6 separate regions of the Homo sapiens genome follow, and all the other regions are linked to region 5. The links are contacts of gene promoters, found by promoter capture Hi-C in blood cells and fetal thymus (Javierre and others, 2016). All regions are on one chromosome and are shown on one strand. The core of a region is centred on a gene start or on the middle of the fragment in contact, and the rest is flanking DNA. Distances in the headings are between cores, read along the strand shown.

Evidence for each region. Contacts are between HindIII fragments. The CHiCAGO score rates a contact against its expected background, and 5 or more counts as called.
Region 1: a fragment that was not itself captured here is called in contact with the fragment with the promoter of HDDC2 in region 5 in 9 of 17 cell types (total B cells, total CD4 T cells, fetal thymus and 6 more); the score reaches 14.2 in total B cells.
Region 2: a contact is called between a fragment that was not itself captured here and the fragment with the promoter of HDDC2 in region 5, in 1 of 17 cell types (naive CD8 T cells). The highest score is 5.4, in naive CD8 T cells.
Region 3: a contact is called between a fragment that was not itself captured here and the fragment with the promoter of HDDC2 in region 5, in 12 of 17 cell types (total B cells, naive CD8 T cells, total CD4 T cells and 9 more). The highest score is 16.6, in total B cells.
Region 4: a contact is called between a fragment that was not itself captured here and the fragment with the promoter of HDDC2 in region 5, in 1 of 17 cell types (naive CD8 T cells). The highest score is 5.3, in naive CD8 T cells.
Region 6: a fragment that was not itself captured here is called in contact with the fragment with the promoter of HDDC2 in region 5 in 1 of 17 cell types (naive B cells); the score reaches 6.2 in naive B cells.

Annotation. Positions count from the first base shown.
Region 1 is chr6:125,795,666-125,798,365 of GRCh38, reverse strand. The region is part of intron 1 of NCOA7 (nuclear receptor coactivator 7); the gene reads right to left. NCOA7-AS1 (NCOA7 antisense RNA 1) reads left to right here. Exons shown (of 3, transcript NR_126386.1): 3 at 201-505. Among named protein-coding and RNA genes, the nearest start is that of NCOA7, 6.1 kb to the right of the region's middle. The HindIII fragment of the contact is 5,504 bases long and covers 1-2,700 here.
Region 2 is chr6:125,652,119-125,654,818 of GRCh38, reverse strand. All of the region lies in intron 3 of HEY2-AS1 (HEY2 antisense RNA 1), which reads left to right. Among named protein-coding and RNA genes, the nearest start is that of LINC02523, 21 kb to the left of the region's middle. The HindIII fragment of the contact is 4,411 bases long and covers 1-2,700 here.
Region 3 is chr6:125,725,627-125,728,326 of GRCh38, reverse strand. The region is part of intron 1 of HEY2-AS1 (HEY2 antisense RNA 1); the gene reads left to right. Among named protein-coding and RNA genes, the nearest start is that of HEY2-AS1, 22 kb to the left of the region's middle. The HindIII fragment of the contact is 6,410 bases long and covers 1-2,700 here.
Region 4 is chr6:125,706,667-125,709,366 of GRCh38, reverse strand. The region is part of intron 2 of HEY2-AS1 (HEY2 antisense RNA 1); the gene reads left to right. All of the region lies in intron 3 of LINC02523 (long intergenic non-protein coding RNA 2523), which reads right to left. Among named protein-coding and RNA genes, the nearest start is that of LINC02523, 34 kb to the right of the region's middle. RefSeq lists enhancers at 1,178-1,723, 1,724-2,270. The HindIII fragment of the contact is 7,752 bases long and covers 1-2,700 here.
Region 5 is chr6:125,300,610-125,303,309 of GRCh38, reverse strand. HDDC2 (HD domain containing 2) reads left to right here and starts at 1,343. Exons shown (of 6, transcript NM_016063.3): 1 at 1,343-1,461; 2 at 2,651-2,700. The coding sequence starts at 1,378. RefSeq lists a silencer at 1,314-1,653. The HindIII fragment of the contact is 13,888 bases long and covers 1-2,700 here.
Region 6 is chr6:125,629,268-125,631,967 of GRCh38, reverse strand. The region is part of intron 4 of HEY2-AS1 (HEY2 antisense RNA 1); the gene reads left to right. Among named protein-coding and RNA genes, the nearest start is that of LINC02523, 44 kb to the left of the region's middle. The HindIII fragment of the contact is 436 bases long and covers 1,178-1,613 here.

The DNA of each region.
Region 1 (2,700 bases), core at 114-2,613, 500 kb before region 5:
TCATTTGACAGATGAGAAAACTCAAAGTGTGGAGAAAATAACTTCCTAACTGCACAGAGGTGGTAACTGGTGGAACAGGATTCCAAGCCACATAAGTGGCTCTGGCATTCCTGCTTTTAACCTTTCTACTATATCAGTAGCCTCTCAGAGATCATGGGCTCATCACGGAACTTCAGCTTCATGTCTGATTGTTTCCTTAGGATATACTCAGAGAAGAATCACGAGTGCCAAGAGAGACCATGAGGCAAACTGCTCTCCATTGAAGGTATACCAGCCTACCCTTCGTGAGCTAAACACAACCTCACTCTTGCCAGCATTGTAACTGACTTTTTAAATCTAGTAATCTGCACTTCTTTGATGCCATGAAGTCAGTATTATTTTCATGTCTTGGCCATCTTAAGTTCCTGTTTTGTGAATATTCTATTCCTATTCCTTGTTATAAAGGTTTTCAGAGTTAAGACATGTTAAATAGAAATTATTTTGGAAGGTTCTGTGATTCAAAATATCAAAGAGTATTGCTGACTAGTTGTTTCAGTGGGACCCTACAGACAGGCAGAACCCTGGGGGAAATCACCGGAAACTAGGGATGAGGGCTCAGCTGTAAACACCTGCAACCACAGAACTGAGCAGACCTTCCCAGCAGACCCATGAATAGCCTGAAATTGAGATTTATCCCATACTGCAGGGGTGACACTTATCCAATGGCTAGAATATTTATCACTGCTACTCAGAGCACTCTCACTTCATGATATCAGCATGCCTGGGGAAACAAGTCAATAAATTCAATGTTTGTGTAGCGAGGCCAGAATCACAGAAGAAACATGAAAGCTCTTAAGGGATCTCAGACCTTTGGATTCATCTCACAAATTATTTCTATTCTATAAGGCATACCTGGTTAGTGATAAGAATAACCCACTAGTCAGAAATTCCACATGAACAGTGTTGAACAAACACTATTAAACTCTTATTTTCTAAATCCTCTGTTAATCAGCTATCAAAAGCAAATTACCTCATGCCAGGTACTTTGCAATAAAAACCAAGCACTTAAGGCCTCTGATTACTTGGGTTGGAATTAAAAGTATTTCATTCACCTACTTAGGAGTCACTTCTTAGATTGGACCACTCTCTCCAAATGGCTCATGTCATCTATCAGGGTCAATGTTCAATCCTTTCAATGTCTTAAGAGTACCCTTTTTGCCTGGCTAATCCCCAAACTCCAGTGACACCCTATTTGGAGGCTTTCGTCCCTTTATGTACCAACTACAGAAGAAAACTAGAGTGGGAGGAATAAAAGACACTCTCCCAGATGAGTGTCATAATAAATACCAAAGCTATTTTTAATGGGTGTTAACACAATGTTTGAGAATTAGTAAAGTAAGCAAGGGCTGCTTTAAAAAGTTGATCTGGACATGCACAGGTGGCCCTCCATATCCATGGGTTCTGCATCCATGGAATCAACCAACCAAGTGCATCACTTGAGGTCAGGAGTTCGAGACCAGTCAGGACAACATGGTGAAATCCTGTCTCTACTAAAAATACAAAAATTAGCCAGGCTTGGTGGCACATACCTGTAATCCCAGCTACTCTGGAGGCTGAGGCAGGAGAATCACTTGAACCTGGGAAGTGGAGGTTGCAGTGAGCCGAGATTACATCACTGCACTCCAGCCTGGGCGACAGAGTGGGAATCTGTCTCAAAAAAAAAAAAAAAATTGAGGAAAAAAATGAATGGTTGGATGGTTGTGTACTGAACATGTACAGACTTTTTTCCTTGTCATTATTCCCCAAACAGTGTACTATAACAACTATCTACTTAGTATTTACATTGAATTGGGGTATTTTAAGTCATATAGAGATGAGTTCAAATATACAGGAGGATGTGCATAGATTATATCCAAATACTATACCATTGGATATCAGAAACCTGAGCATCCTTAGATTTTGGTATCTGCAGGGGTCCTGGAACCCACTACCTGGAACCAATCCCCTGCACGATACTGAGGGACTACTGATTTATATTGAGGTGGGTGGGGGGTGGGGAGAGAAGAAGGATGAATGATTAAATAAAATCTTCAACCCTAATTTTTTTTTATCAATCTTACATGCTATCCAAAATCATGGTTAATTTTTTACCAGAACGTCAATTTTGCTAGTAGCAAAATATAGCTATTAGCTATAACATAGCTAATATAGAAAATTACTCCTAGTATGGAAGCCTACTTGGGACACTAAGTTTCATGCAGAAGGCTCCATGAGTTTACAGAATCTCAAGGAAGAAAGGCCCCTAGAGATGACACCAGAAATGAGAGTGGCTTGCTCATGAAAATTGGACAGCATGTTCCAAGCAGAGGGAACAGCATGGAGAAGAAAAATCATACTCTATCCACGTGCAGAAACTGGCAATTAGTTTTGTATTACTAAAACACAAATGTTTAACTTGGGGGTCCACAAACAAGGATATGTTGGCAAATGGTATTTGCTGTGCATGATGACAACTTGAACTTTCATCAGGTTTTTTATGGGTCTATGAAATGGGTCAAGGGGACTTAGCTAAGAATGACTGTGGGTAAAATGCATGACAAGGAGGGATACAGACAGGAGATGAATCTCTCAGGGTCCAAGAGACCAGGGTAAGATGTGCAGATTCCTTCCTGTGTATGATGGAAATGTTTTACAGGGTCTGAAGGGGGAAGTTTAGAAGGA
Region 2 (2,700 bases), core at 9-2,508, 350 kb before region 5:
ATCCTCCTTTTTGTTTTGGATGTTAGAAAACTTAGGACAAAATTTGTGGCAAATCACATTCATTTATTCTTTTATTTATTCAACTGAACTGAAGTGATGCTAAGATGGACTTATTTGTCCTCTACCTAGTTTTTCACAAGCAGGGATTCTAGACAGTTAATGTTGGAGGGTGCATGGTGCCATGGTTTAAGTCCCAGGATTAGACTGTTTGAGCTGGTAGCTCACCTTTGCCATAATTGACAAACTTGCCTCTGAAACTCAGGGTAAGCATTGTACAATGGAGATAATGATAGAACTTACCTCAATAATAAATGTGAGAATTAAATGAAACAATACTTTTTTTGCCCTTAGAAACAATTTATAAGAAAAAAAAAACCCATCAAAAAGTGGGTGAAGTATATGAACAGACACTTTTCAAAAGAAGACATTTATGCGGCCAACGAACATATGGAAAAAATGCTCATCATCACTGGTCATTAGAGAAATGCAAATCAAAACCACAATGAGATACCATCTCACTCCAGTTAGAATGGCAATCATTAAAAATCAGGCAACAACAGATGCTGGAGAGGTTGTGGAGAAATAGGAATGCTTTTACACTGTTGGTGAGAGTGTAAATTAGTACAACCATTGTGGAAGACAGTGTGGCGATTCCTTAAGGATCTAAAACCAGAAACACCATTTGACCCAGCAATCCCATTACTGGGTATATATCCAAAGGATTATAAATCATTCTACTATAAAGACACATGCAGCACTGGTCACAATAGCAAAGACTTGGAACCAACCCAAATGCCCATCAATGATAGACTGGATAAAGAAAATGTGGCACATATACACCATGGAATACTATGCAGCCATAAAAAATGATGAATTCATGTCCTTTGCAGGGACATGGATGAAGCTGGAAACCATAATTCTCAGCAAACTAACACAAGAGCAGAAAAACAAATACCACATATTCTCACTCATAAGTAGGGGTTGAACAATGAGAACACATGGACACAGGGAAGGGAACATTGCACACTGGGGCCTGTTGTGGGGAGGTATAGCATTAGAAGAAATACCTAACATAGATGACGGGTTGATGGGTGCAGCAAACCACCATGGCACGTGTATACCTATGTAACAAACCTGCATGTTCTGCACATGTATCCCAGAACTTAAAGTATTAAAAAAAAAGAACAAAAAGAAAAGAATCAGGGTTGAGTATATGGGAAGCACTCCATCAATTTTTGCTTTTATTAATATTATCAACAAATAATTATTTAATACCACTATATGCTAAGCAGGAGACTGGAGAGGGAGATTTCCACAGTGTCCCCTAATTTCATTTTGGATTATATCTTAACTCTGTCACCTTTTCTTCGAGTTCAACATTATTTAAATTCATCTTTTCTTGTTTTATGTATTTATATAAGCATTTATGCATTATTTTAAGAATAAGGTAGGATATAAATAAAAATGTTGTTTTTAGGATTATGTTCATGCCTAATTCTAGGCATATTTAAAGTAATAATCTGAAAGATAAAGTATTTGATAAACTAATTACCCCCTGAGAGCTGCATGATTTAAAATTCAAAAACACAGTAGTGAGAAAACCAAAATCTGAAGTCAGTGAACGCTGAAATTTGAGAGAGACTTTCTAAGTTTCTAAATTGAAATTATCTCACCGGGGCACGGCGGCTCATGCCTGTAATCTCAGCACTTTGGGAGGCTGAGGCTGGCGGATCACTTGAGGTCAGGAGTTCAAGACCGGTCTGGGCAACATGGTGAAACCCTATCTCTACAAAAAATAAAAAAAGTTAGCCGGGCGTGGTGGTGCATGCCTGTAGTCCCAGCTACTCGCGAGGCTGAAGCAGGAGAATCACTTGAACTCAGGCGGTGCAGGTTTCAGTGAGCTGAGATCGCACCCCTGCACTCCAGCCTGGGAGTGCAAGACTCTGTCACAAAACAAAACAAACAAAACACAACAAAACAACCCTTTTAGTTGTGTGAACGAAAGTTATCTGAAAAGCGAATTTGGAGGAAAGAGACTTTATTTCAGTGAACAGTTTGCAAACCAAGGAGATGAAGCCTTTGGTGTAAAACAAAGGTGCGTTTCAGAGAACAATGGGAGGGTTTGGGTTTTATATCAAAAATTCCCATCAGGGTTCCCAATCAGGTATATTTATACAAATTAAGGTTTGGCAAACTTGTGTAGTTCTGATCGGTCTCTATAGCTGGGTTCTGATTTGTCTGTATAGCTGAGTTCTGATTGGTTGATACTACTGAGCCCTTATTGATTGATACAGCTGAGCCCTGATCGTTGCGGTAGGTGAGCACTGATTGGGTTGGTTCAGGTGAGCTCTGAAAATCCCAAAGTTAAATAGAGGTGTGGGTTTTTGGGGAACTCAGAGAACCTGTGTGACCTAAGTCAGCAAATGACTGCTTGTCTCAGTTTAAAATTTGGGCCCAGATAACAACTCAGGATCTGTCTTAAAGGATTGGCTTGTTCAGGTTCATATTTGGTCACAGCTGGTACTCAAATTCCCTGCCATAAATCACCCTCTTCATATCTTTCACATTTAGTTAATTTCTATTCTTCTTATTTAATTTTACCTACTTAAAAAAATGTGAGCAGGGAAATCAAGTGTGTTATTATGCCAACAGATCTTCAGTGACTTAATAAGGTTTGACCCACCTGTTATTGTACAACTT
Region 3 (2,700 bases), core at 157-2,656, 420 kb before region 5:
CATTTCTTGTGCATTTGAGTTTGTAAACTGAGATTTGTACTACATTAGCATTGCAATGCTAATAAAATTGCATGTATATTTGACAACATACCTGGGACAGTCTTCTATATCAGCACATATAAATCTGCCTCCTTTAAAAATGTCTTCTTAAGATGGCACGATATAGGATTTATCTAATCATATGGCTGGATGTTTAAGTTATATCAATGTTTCACTCTTTGGAATGTTGCAGCAGTAAATACTCTTTTACATAAACCAACTCTTATGAGCACAGCCTCTTTAAACAATCTTTTTGTGTACCTAGATACCAAGTGTTGAATTACCTTCCAATTGGAAACACCTCCTCCCCTACCCATATGAGAGATCATATGCTAAAACTCATGTTCAGTTTTCAATTATTTTAGCACTCACATTTTTATCAAATAAAATAGCATGTAATGAAATATGTGGCAAGTCTACATTTCAAAGAAATAAAGTTGAGGAAGTCTGAACGGGAGAAGGTAGAAGTCCAGAAGCTCTGCTGCTCTGCTGAAATTTCTCCCCACCTTGGGGACTTACCTTTCCCCTGCCTCTGCCTGTGAGTCAATTTGAGGAGACAGGGCTGGATGCTGCACCCCGCCTCATGTTCACTGGTCAGGAAAATCACAGACAACATTTAGGATTTGGGTCTGGCAAAGCCAGTTAGCCCAGGTTTGCTTTATGGCTTTTTTGACTCCTGCTTCTGTGATTTAATACCAAGTCTTGTAAAGTTAGTTGTGTTTTCTTTTGTCTTTCCATAATATATAGTATACAACTCATTTATAGCACTTACCACTTTGTTCTTTCTTAAAAATGCTGTTCCAGAAGAAGAACATTTCCTTACTTAGCTTTGAGATCTACAGCACTTATTCATAAAATTTGGCAAGGACTAGTTTTTCCATAAGGCCTTCTGAATGAATACATGAATCACACATTTGCTTAACAACTTAAATATAGTAGACACAAGCTCATCTTCAAGAATGTAGATACTTTAAAAAGGTACAAATGTACCTATTTTGGTCTCCTCTTGTCTTCTTTGAACCAATTATACAGGTCTGTAAGTGTTTCTGCTTTGGAATGGCCAGTTTGCTTTATATAGATTCATTGAAAGGGCTGGAATTGACCCAAAGGTCCCCCATTATATTCTTGCAGCCACCTTTGGTGGATGATATAATGAAAGCAGCGTATGTACCTATAAAAACTGCTACTGTATATGAAGATGGGCTTGGGAAATGTTGAACAAAAATGGAAATATGTCTGCTTTTTACATCTGAGTGAGGAGAATCAAAAGCTGCCCATGCTACCCAAACTCTCAATTTTGTTACCAGAATGAGCGGGTGGGAGACACAAGAATGAAAGAAATGAAGAATGAAACACAAAAGGAAATAGAGTGGAGAGCACGTGATAACTGCCAAATACATAGTGAAGGAAATCAACCACATGAAGATAATATAGTTTCTTTCTTTAAAATTTTTATGCTCACATAATTTCAGACCTGTACGTTCTCAAAAAGATGAAAATTAAAAGTTGCTGACATGATGCCACTTACCTGTAAATATTTCAGGTCTATATCCTAAAATCAAGAACCTTCTTTTATATAACCAAGTGTAATATTAAATCAGAAAATTAACATTAATACATGACTGTTACACAGATTTTTCAACTTGTTCCAATAATTCCCTTTTATAAACAACAAACACAAATGACAACAACAACGGATTACACATTGCATTAAGTTTGGTCTCCTTTAACCTGGAATAATTCCTCAATCTTTCCTTGTGTTTTATGGTACTGACGTTTTGGAAGTGTACAGCCAGCTATATTGTAGAGTGTTCCTCAATTTGAATTTGTCTGATGTTTCCTCGTAATTAGATTCAGGTTACACATTTTGGCAGGAATTCCACAGAAGTAATGCTGTGCCCTTCTCAGTGCCTTGTCTTAGAAGGTACACGATATTGAAAGGTACCATTACTGATGACGTTTAATCATTTGGTTAAGGTGGTTTCTGCCAGATTTCTCCACTAAATAGTTACTACTATTTTTTTTCCATTGCAATTAATACATATTTGAGAGAGAAACTTTGAGACTATGTAGATATCCTGTTGCTCATCAAATTTACACATTCTAGTTTAGCATCCATGAATGATTCTTGTCTGAATCAATTATTACAACCATCGTTGCTAAATGATGACTTTACAAGTTCATCATTCTTTTCATATTTATTAATTTGCTTTGTACTGTAAGAAGGAGCTTTCTCTTCTTTTATAGGCATGTATGTATGTATGTGTGTGTAGGTAGCTCATTATGAACTTACGGATTCTTATTTTATTCAATGAGTTATAATCAGTTACTGTCATTATTATTTTGATACTCAAATTTCCAAGATTTGACTAATGGGAAGCCCTTTAACATGGCTTTTTGGCTTTTTCTTATGTACCCACAATTCTTTGAACACTTTCTTTTTTTTGGCTTATTATTTCTTTTTCTTTTTTTTACTATTATACTTTAAGTTCTAGGGTACATGTGCACAATGTGCAGGTTTGTTACATATGTATACATGTGCCATGTTGGTGTCTTTGAGCACTTTCTTACTTTCCGGCACAAAAAGATATTCCAGACTCAAGTTGTACTTTCCCTGCCCTGGATATATTTTAAGGGGAGTATGAGTGTCTTTTCTTCTAG
Region 4 (2,700 bases), core at 15-2,514, 410 kb before region 5:
GTTAGCTTTCAAAAATTGTATGAGTATATACACTCATTTAAAGTCAAACAGAACAAAGGGTATAAAATGAAAAGCAAAAGTTGTTTTCCCTTCAAGTTTCCACTTCTTATTCATATTACTTAGTATCACTCAACAGACATAATTTCTTATGTAAATTTCCAAAAGTCTTTAATGTACAGTATAAACAAACATTGATCAGGTATGCCTATGCTTTAAAAGTTTTCTTTTCTCTTTTTTTCTTTTTATCCAAGTAGACTCATATTCTATGACTAAAAAAAAACCATGGACACTGGAAAGTCAGGTTTACTTTCTTTTTTCTTCTTATTGGCTGCATATTCTTCTATTGCATTGATTATTCTAATTGATTTAGGCACTCCTATACTGTGAGATATTCAGATTTCTTCTACGTTCTGCTAAAATAAAAAATGTTACAATAGATACTCATTGGCAGATATTTTTCATATCTTGTGCTTGCTCTTTAAGATAGATTCCTAGCCAAGGACTTGTGGGGCCATTGTTTATATAAATTAGAAATTTTGATGAATGTAGTCAAGCTGCGTTTCTGAAAACTTATTCTCTCCAACAATACCGGTTTATACATATTCATGCTGATTTGGGGAATTATCAGACATTTTAATCTTCACCAATCTGAAAGGTAAGAAAATGCTACCTCCTTGTTTTTCACTAAATTGTGACATTTTCCTTGCAATAAAATAGGATAGAACTGTTAGGACTGTCTTTGATAACCAGTAGACTTCAGAATGGATATATCTGCCTCCTAGAACCCCTAACTTCTGATGAAGACCTAAATGATTTCTACAGCTGCTGAGATAAATCATCTTCTTTTTTTTCTTTTTTAGGAATCTATCTTCTTTTCCTTTCATGGTCATATTGCAGTATGTTTTCTGTATAGATCTACCACTTTAGAGCTTACAGAAGTAGAATATGTATTCACATGTATCTTGGAGTTTATGCTTTTAGTCTCTTCCTTTAAATAGTTTTGCCCTCCCCAGTGTTTCCTTCCCCCATGGGTATTTAATCATGTATACGACAAACCAGCACTACATGTGATTCTCCTAGTAATGCCATATGGTTTCCCTGAATGGGAATAGATGGAGGAATTTATTGACTTTGATCATCGCACTATAACAAATACAATTATGGCACAGGAAACTTCCTACTTTAGTTCAAGAGAAAATGGTGTAACCCCCTCCTTTGGATGATTTGTGTGTCTGAATGAATCAGGAGGTTTTCTCCAGATCCCATCCTCTTTCATACGCAATCATTGAGATGACATGTCCATATGCATTACTAGTGAAGGAGTTCTCTCCACCCCCACCTTGCCAATCAAATAATCACTGCTTAAAACAGAGGGAATGATTTAGCAGTTGAAGTGTTGGCTTTGAAACACTTAGACTTGGTGGCATCTTTTAAAGTTTCATCAGGATTGACTTAGTCCCTCATCCTGGGAATATCACAACCACATGGAACCCTAAGTCATTGCAGAAGAGCTGTTTTTGTAAGAAACCCCAAACCTGGAGGCCCCATTTTCTCTGAGATTGTTGAACATACAAAGCATGTGTTTGTGAATTGTGGCCTTAACTGTCAGGCCTCTGAGCCCAAGCCAAGCCATCACATCCCCTGTGACTTGCACGTATATACGCCCAGATGGCCTGAAGTAACTGAAGAATCACAAAAGAAGTGAATATGTCCTGCCTCACCTTAACTGATGACATTCCACCACAAAAGAAGTGTAAATGGCCGGTCCTTGCCTTAAGTGATGACATTACCTTGTGAAAGTCCTTTTCCTGGCTCATCCTGGCTCAAAAAGCACCCCCACTGAGCACCTTGCGACCCCCACTCCTGCCCGCCAGAGAACCCCCCTTTGACTGTAATTTTCCTTTACCTACCCAAATCCTATAAAACGGCCCCACCCCTATCTCCCTTCGCTGACTCTCTTTTCGGACTCAGCCTGCCTGCACCCAGGTGAAATAAACAGCCATGTTGCTCACACAAAGCCTGTTTGGTGGTATCTTCACACGGACGCGCATGAAATTTGGTGCCGTGACTTGGATCGGGGGACCTCCCTTGGGAGATCAATCCCCTGTCCTCCTGTTCTTTGCTCCGTGAGAAAGATCCACCTACGACCTCAGGTCCTCAGACCCACCAGCCCAAGGAACATCTCACCAATTTTAAATCAGGTAAGCGGCCTCTTCTTACTCTCCTCTCCAACCTCTCTCACTGTCCCTCAACCACTTTCTCCTTTCCACTCTTCAATCTCTCCCTTCTCTTAATTTCAATTCCTTTCATTTTCTGGGAGAGACAAAGGAGACACATTTTATCCATGGACCCAAAACTCCGGTGCCAGTCACGGACTGGGAAGGCAGCTTTCCCTTGGTGTTTAATCATTGCAGGGACACCTCTCTGATTATACACCCACGTTTCAAGAGTGTCAGACCACGCAGGGACGCCTGCCTTGGTCCTTCACCCTTATCGGCAAGTCCCACTTTTCTGGGGAAGGGGCAAGTACCTCAACCCCTTCTCTCCTTGTCCCTACCCCTTCTCTGCTTTTCCGGGGACAGGGCAAGTACCCCAACCCCTTCTCTCCTTGTCTCTACCCTTCTCTGCTTTTCTGGGAGAGGGGCAAGTACCCCTCAACCCCTTCTCCTTCACTGTTAGCGGCAAGTCCCGCTTTTCTGG
Region 5 (2,700 bases), core at 94-2,593:
GCAAAGAAAGCCTCCTAGCTCCCTGAGTAAGGTTAGAGCAAGCAGCATCCTCTAGCTGATCTACAATAGACACTTAGCATGAGAGAGAAATAAACCTTTGATGTGTTAAACTGCTGAGATACAGGAAATAAGGAGGTTGTTTGTTATTATAACATCCCAGCCTATACTTTGCTTCCTAATTTGGTGAGAAAATAGAAGCAATCAGAAGAGAACTTCTACAACCTCCCATGACCACATGTGCGACTGATTAGTCACCCTATACTCTGTCCTCCTCCAATATTTGAATGAATTCTCCATATTCCTATCTAAAGCCCATCTTTTATCTTGTACACCAGATGGGAATATTTTTCCTTACTCAAGGCCGACATTCAAATATTTCTCTTCTTTGTCTCTTACATAATCAATGTTTCCCTTTCTACTAGATCCCCTTCATCAGTAAACATACATAATATCTCCTGTTTTGAAACAATCTCTCCACTAGTTAACAGCACCCCAACCCCATCTCCAATGTGCTGTAATACTTGCTCCTATTCTCTTCGGAATTATCTCACTAGGTTCTGCTTGGCCCACTACACTGAAAACTGCTTTTGTCAGGGTAACCAATAATATTGAATTTACTAAGTCTGGAAGTCAAACCTTGGTCCTCACATTGACTTGGTTGACCATATTCCTTCCTTCTTGAAATATTTTTGTACATGGCTTCCAGGACACAACTATCCTACCTACTAATCCTCTTCCTACCTCACTGGCTGTTCCCTCTTGATCTCACAAAGCCTAAATGTTGGGGTTCAGGTCTTGGGTGTCTTTTCTTCTTCATTCACACCCTCTTGCCAGGTGACCTCATCCAGTTTCATGGTTTTACACTGTCAACTGAAGAATAACGAGGTTCATAAATTTAGAAAGGAGAGCTTTATTTTTCATAAAGAGTACTGAGTGTCAAGTATGTGCCAAGCAAGGTGTCTGCCACTGACGGAGCAATGCCCAAGCAGCGGACACCAAGGCCAAGAAGGCGAAGGCTGGACAGAAGGTCCTGAGAAAACCGTGAGAATATGGAGGAGGGGGAGGAGGAATAAGAACAGGAGGAGGAGGGGGAGGAGGAATAAGAACAGGAGGAGGAGGAAGAGGAGGGGGAGAGAGGAAGAGGGGCAGGAGGAAGAGGAAGAGGAGAAAGCGGAAGTGGGGGAGGAGGAGGAGGAGTTGGAAGGGGAGGAGGAAGAGGGGGAGCAGGAAGAGGGGCAGAAGGAAGAAGAAGAGGGGGAGGAGAAAGAGATAGAAGAGTAAGAGGAGGGGGAAGAAAGACAAGGGGAAGGGGAGGAGGAGGAGGACGGGGAGGAGCTTCGCCGCGGCCTGCTCCGCCCAGCCGGGGTCGGTGGCCGCATGGCTTCGGTCTCCTCTGCGACCTTCTCGGGCCACGGGGCTCGGTCCCTACTGCAGTTCCTGCGGCTGGTAGGGCAGCTCAAGGTGAGCGGGCACCAGGCCGGGAGGCCGCGGCCGAGCGGGCGGGACTGTGGGGCGGCGGAGCTTCCGGCCTCCCCGCTCGGCCGGCGGTCTTTGCCCTTCCTGCGCCGCGTCCGCCACGCCGAATTCCGGAAAGGCCCCAGTCCTGCGGATGCGGCCGCGCGTTGCCGACGGTGGACGGAGGAAGCAGCCGGCGGGACAGGCTGGCCAGCTGGGGCGGCCCGGAGTCTGAGCCTAGAGCCTGGCGCCGCGAGGTCCGCACTGCAGCCGCGCCAGTTCCCGGAGAGCAGCCGGCCTGGCCCTGCCTGCACTGAGCTTTTCCGGGGCTCACGACCCCAGAACTCGTGTGTGTGTGTGTGTGTGTGTGTGCTCACGACCCCAGAACTCGTGTGTGTGTGTGTGTGTGTGTAAAGCGCGGCTGCTTCTGAGCACGGGTGGGAAGAACAGAATCTGTCGGCTCCTCAGATTTTAAGTGGAGCTTTTTATGTCTGTCTCACAGTTACTTCCAGAAACAAGACTTTTCTCCCGGCCACCCCCCAAACGGGATTTAATGTAATACACACGAGTTTCATCATGTGCGTCTTCCCCGTCTCTCTCCCAAGTTCAAAGTAAATTATCCGTTTCATGCCACTCTGACTACTATTTATAACATTCCTTAGAGATGTAGAATTCTGAGGAAGAAATGCAGTTTCACAAGATGAAGTTATGATGTGAATAAAAGGAAGAGTCACGGCTGGTAGCATCAAGCAATTAGAAGTGCCCTTATCCCTTGTGCCTCAGAATTTGGAAGCCTATCACTCGTTCACGTTCAGACCCTTCAATACAGTGTTTTCTGCTTGTGTAGGATTATTTGAAGGCAAAAAGCCGCAACTCTTGTTCGGAAAAATGCAGTTTTGTTTTTGTTTAAAGGACTTGCATATGTTCCATAATTATACATCAGTAACAGAATAATTTGACGAATGGACTTTGTGACTTATCTCTCTCTGTCTTCTACCCCTTTCATTCTCTGAGCTCTCTAGTTCATTTGATTCCAGATGTCTATCATTTTAGCTAGTTTAGCAAAACATTTTGTAATAGGTTCTGAAATTATGACCCGGCTTCTGTGTGTTATATCCTGGACATCTCTTGAAGAGCATAGCAGATAGTTAATATTTGTTCTTTAAAACTTCTTTTTCTTCTTCATATTTATCAGAGAGTCCCACGAACTGGCTGGGTATACAGAAATGTCCAGAGGCCGGAGAG
Region 6 (2,700 bases), core at 146-2,645, 330 kb before region 5:
TACCTTGATGTGATTATTACACATTGTATGCCTGTAGCAAAATATCTCACATAACCCATAAATATGTACACCTACTAGGAGCCCACATAAATTAAAAATAAAAAATTATTGATGAAAAGAAAATTAAACTTTTTCGAGGTCGGGGGTGGAGGTAGAGTTAATGTGTCACAGGGTACTCTGGCTGAACAGAAATAGTGTGACTACTTATTGGGACATTGTGATCAAGGACATATGGAAGGATTAACTGCAAGAATCAGTTTCAGACATGATCTTCCCTGGAGAATTCACTACAGTTTATTTCTCTGTCTTTTCACGACATCAGAGTCTGATGGGCAATATTTTCCTGAGTGACATGTGCCTAGAGAGGTATTGGAGGATGTAGAGAGACATCTGTTTTGATTTGTGACTTATAATATGCAAAGAACTGCAGAGAGAAAAGAGAAAGAGAGAGAGAGAGAGAAGGAGAGGAGAAAAAGAAAAGAGAGATCCAGTAGAGGGAAAACATAAGTCCTTGTTTTCTCCTTCTCTGTGCCAAGTAGGTATATGCTGCTGCTAGGACCATTTGGCCAGACTGGCAGTCAACAATGACAGCAGTCTAGCTGTGGCTTGGGGCCAGTGGGAGGCAGGCTGCGTGGCAGACTGAGCATGGGTGAGGGGCAGGTGGAAGTGGGAAGTACTAGAAGGAAATTGTTGCAGCCAGCATACAGATTTGGAAATTAAAGTTTAAGATCTGTGTGGCAAGGAATGAATGACCAAAAAAAAAAAAAAAAAAAAAATTCCTCTTCAAGCTGCTATTGGGCTTTGAGGTGAATGTGTTTCTGGTACATTTGCTGAAATGAAAAAAAATTAAGATGATAGGGCTATCCATTTGTGACCCATGTGGCTGCTCATGGACAGCCCCTATTTACGTAAACTAAGGGCGTGAACTCCTCCTCCTTCTTCAAGGCCACCTTCCTCTAGCTCATGTGGATAGGATGGTCTGCGTCTTTTCTGCTCCAGGTCACTCCAGGCCCCAGCTTGCTTCCGCTCTTGCCTTCATCTGCCCACTTCACCCTGGGCCTCTGCTGCCTTTGCCACTCTTGAAACTTGGGACAATCCCTCTCTTGCTTTATTTCCTTTATTCCCCCAAGTTATTGCTGCTACAAGGGTTTGTCATGCAGCAGCTTTCACTGAAGCTTTGGGGACAGAGGAGAGGGGTCACAGAATAGGCAATAACAGGAAACCCCTCCGAGAGTGTTCTTGCCTGTGGCCTTCACCAGCTGCTGTGAGACATGGCCTCTTCTTACTCGCCCTGTGGTGATGTTCTCTTTTTCCTGTTTCTTGTCTGAATTCCAGTCCTGCCCCACTCCTCTATCCTCAAGGACTATGTCTTAGTCCATGTAGGCTGCTATAACAAAATACCTTAAATTGGGTAATTAATAAATAATAGAAATTTATTTCTCACAGTTCTGGAAGTTAGGAAGTCCAAGGTGAAAGAGCTGGCAGATTTGGTGTCTGGTGAGGCTGCTGTCTGCTTCCAAGATGGTGCCTTGTTTCTGTGCCCTCAGGAGGGGACAAACACTGTGTCCTCACATGGCAAAAGGGACAAAAGGGCAAGGCAGCTTCCTGAAGCTTCTTTTATAAAAGCGTTAATCCCATTCACAAGCGCAGAGTCCTCGTGAGCTGTCCAAATCTCCATCTTCTAGTATACCATCACCTTGGCAATTAGGTTTCAACATATACATTGTGTAGGGACACATACATTTAAACCACAGCAGGCTGCAATTAAGCACCAGGTCTGGGGTCCCGACTTTCTTTGTGGCTGATCTTCTACTACATTTGGGGCCTCCAATCAATCTCTTCACCTCATTCAGAGTCCCTTTTGTGTAGTGAGGGTTTAATAGTGATACATATCACCCCAAGCAGGTTCCTAACTTTCAGAGTGAAACTTGAGCCTTTGACTTCTAATTCCTCACTTGACATTTCCTCTATTCACTTTTCTTTCCCCATTCTGAGGGTCACTGAGCCTTCTGGTTTACATCAAGCTAATCTCTGTAGACCCATGTTGAGGGCATCAGTTCCTTTGTATGTAAAATGAGAAATCTTTAATCTGGAATCTTTCTTTACAAGTCTAAACCAGAGCCCAGAAAAATTGATATATATGTGTGTGTGTGTGTGTGTGTGTGTGTATATAATTTACATATATGCGTATGTAAGATTATTCATTTTAGTTTAGGTTGTGATGGAAAAAGATAGAAAAGAACTTAACTATCTATCAATAGAGGAAAAATTAGACAGATTATGGTTCATAATACAATAAAGTACTACGCAACCATGAAAAAGAATTAAGAGTCTCTATGTTTGCTTTTCTTGAATAATGTCAGTAGTTTATTATAAATTGAAAAAGCACCATCTGAATCAAAATGTAGAACATGATTTTTAAAAGTCTCTCCCTCCTTCTCTCTCTGTTTCTCTTTCAATGTAGAAATAACTTGATAAACATAGAAAAAAGTCGAATGGGAAGTCTTCAGACTGCTTCTCACTGATGGAGTGGGAGAGTAGTGCTTTTAAATCTTACTTTACATAATTTTCCAAGGAGGTAGTTAAGTTGCAGAATCATGAATGTCCCTTTTTAAAAATATTCTTCAAGTTAAAATATTTACAAATATAGCATAATAGGAAACCAACTGATAAAAATGAAGGGATTAGGCTAAATGTTCT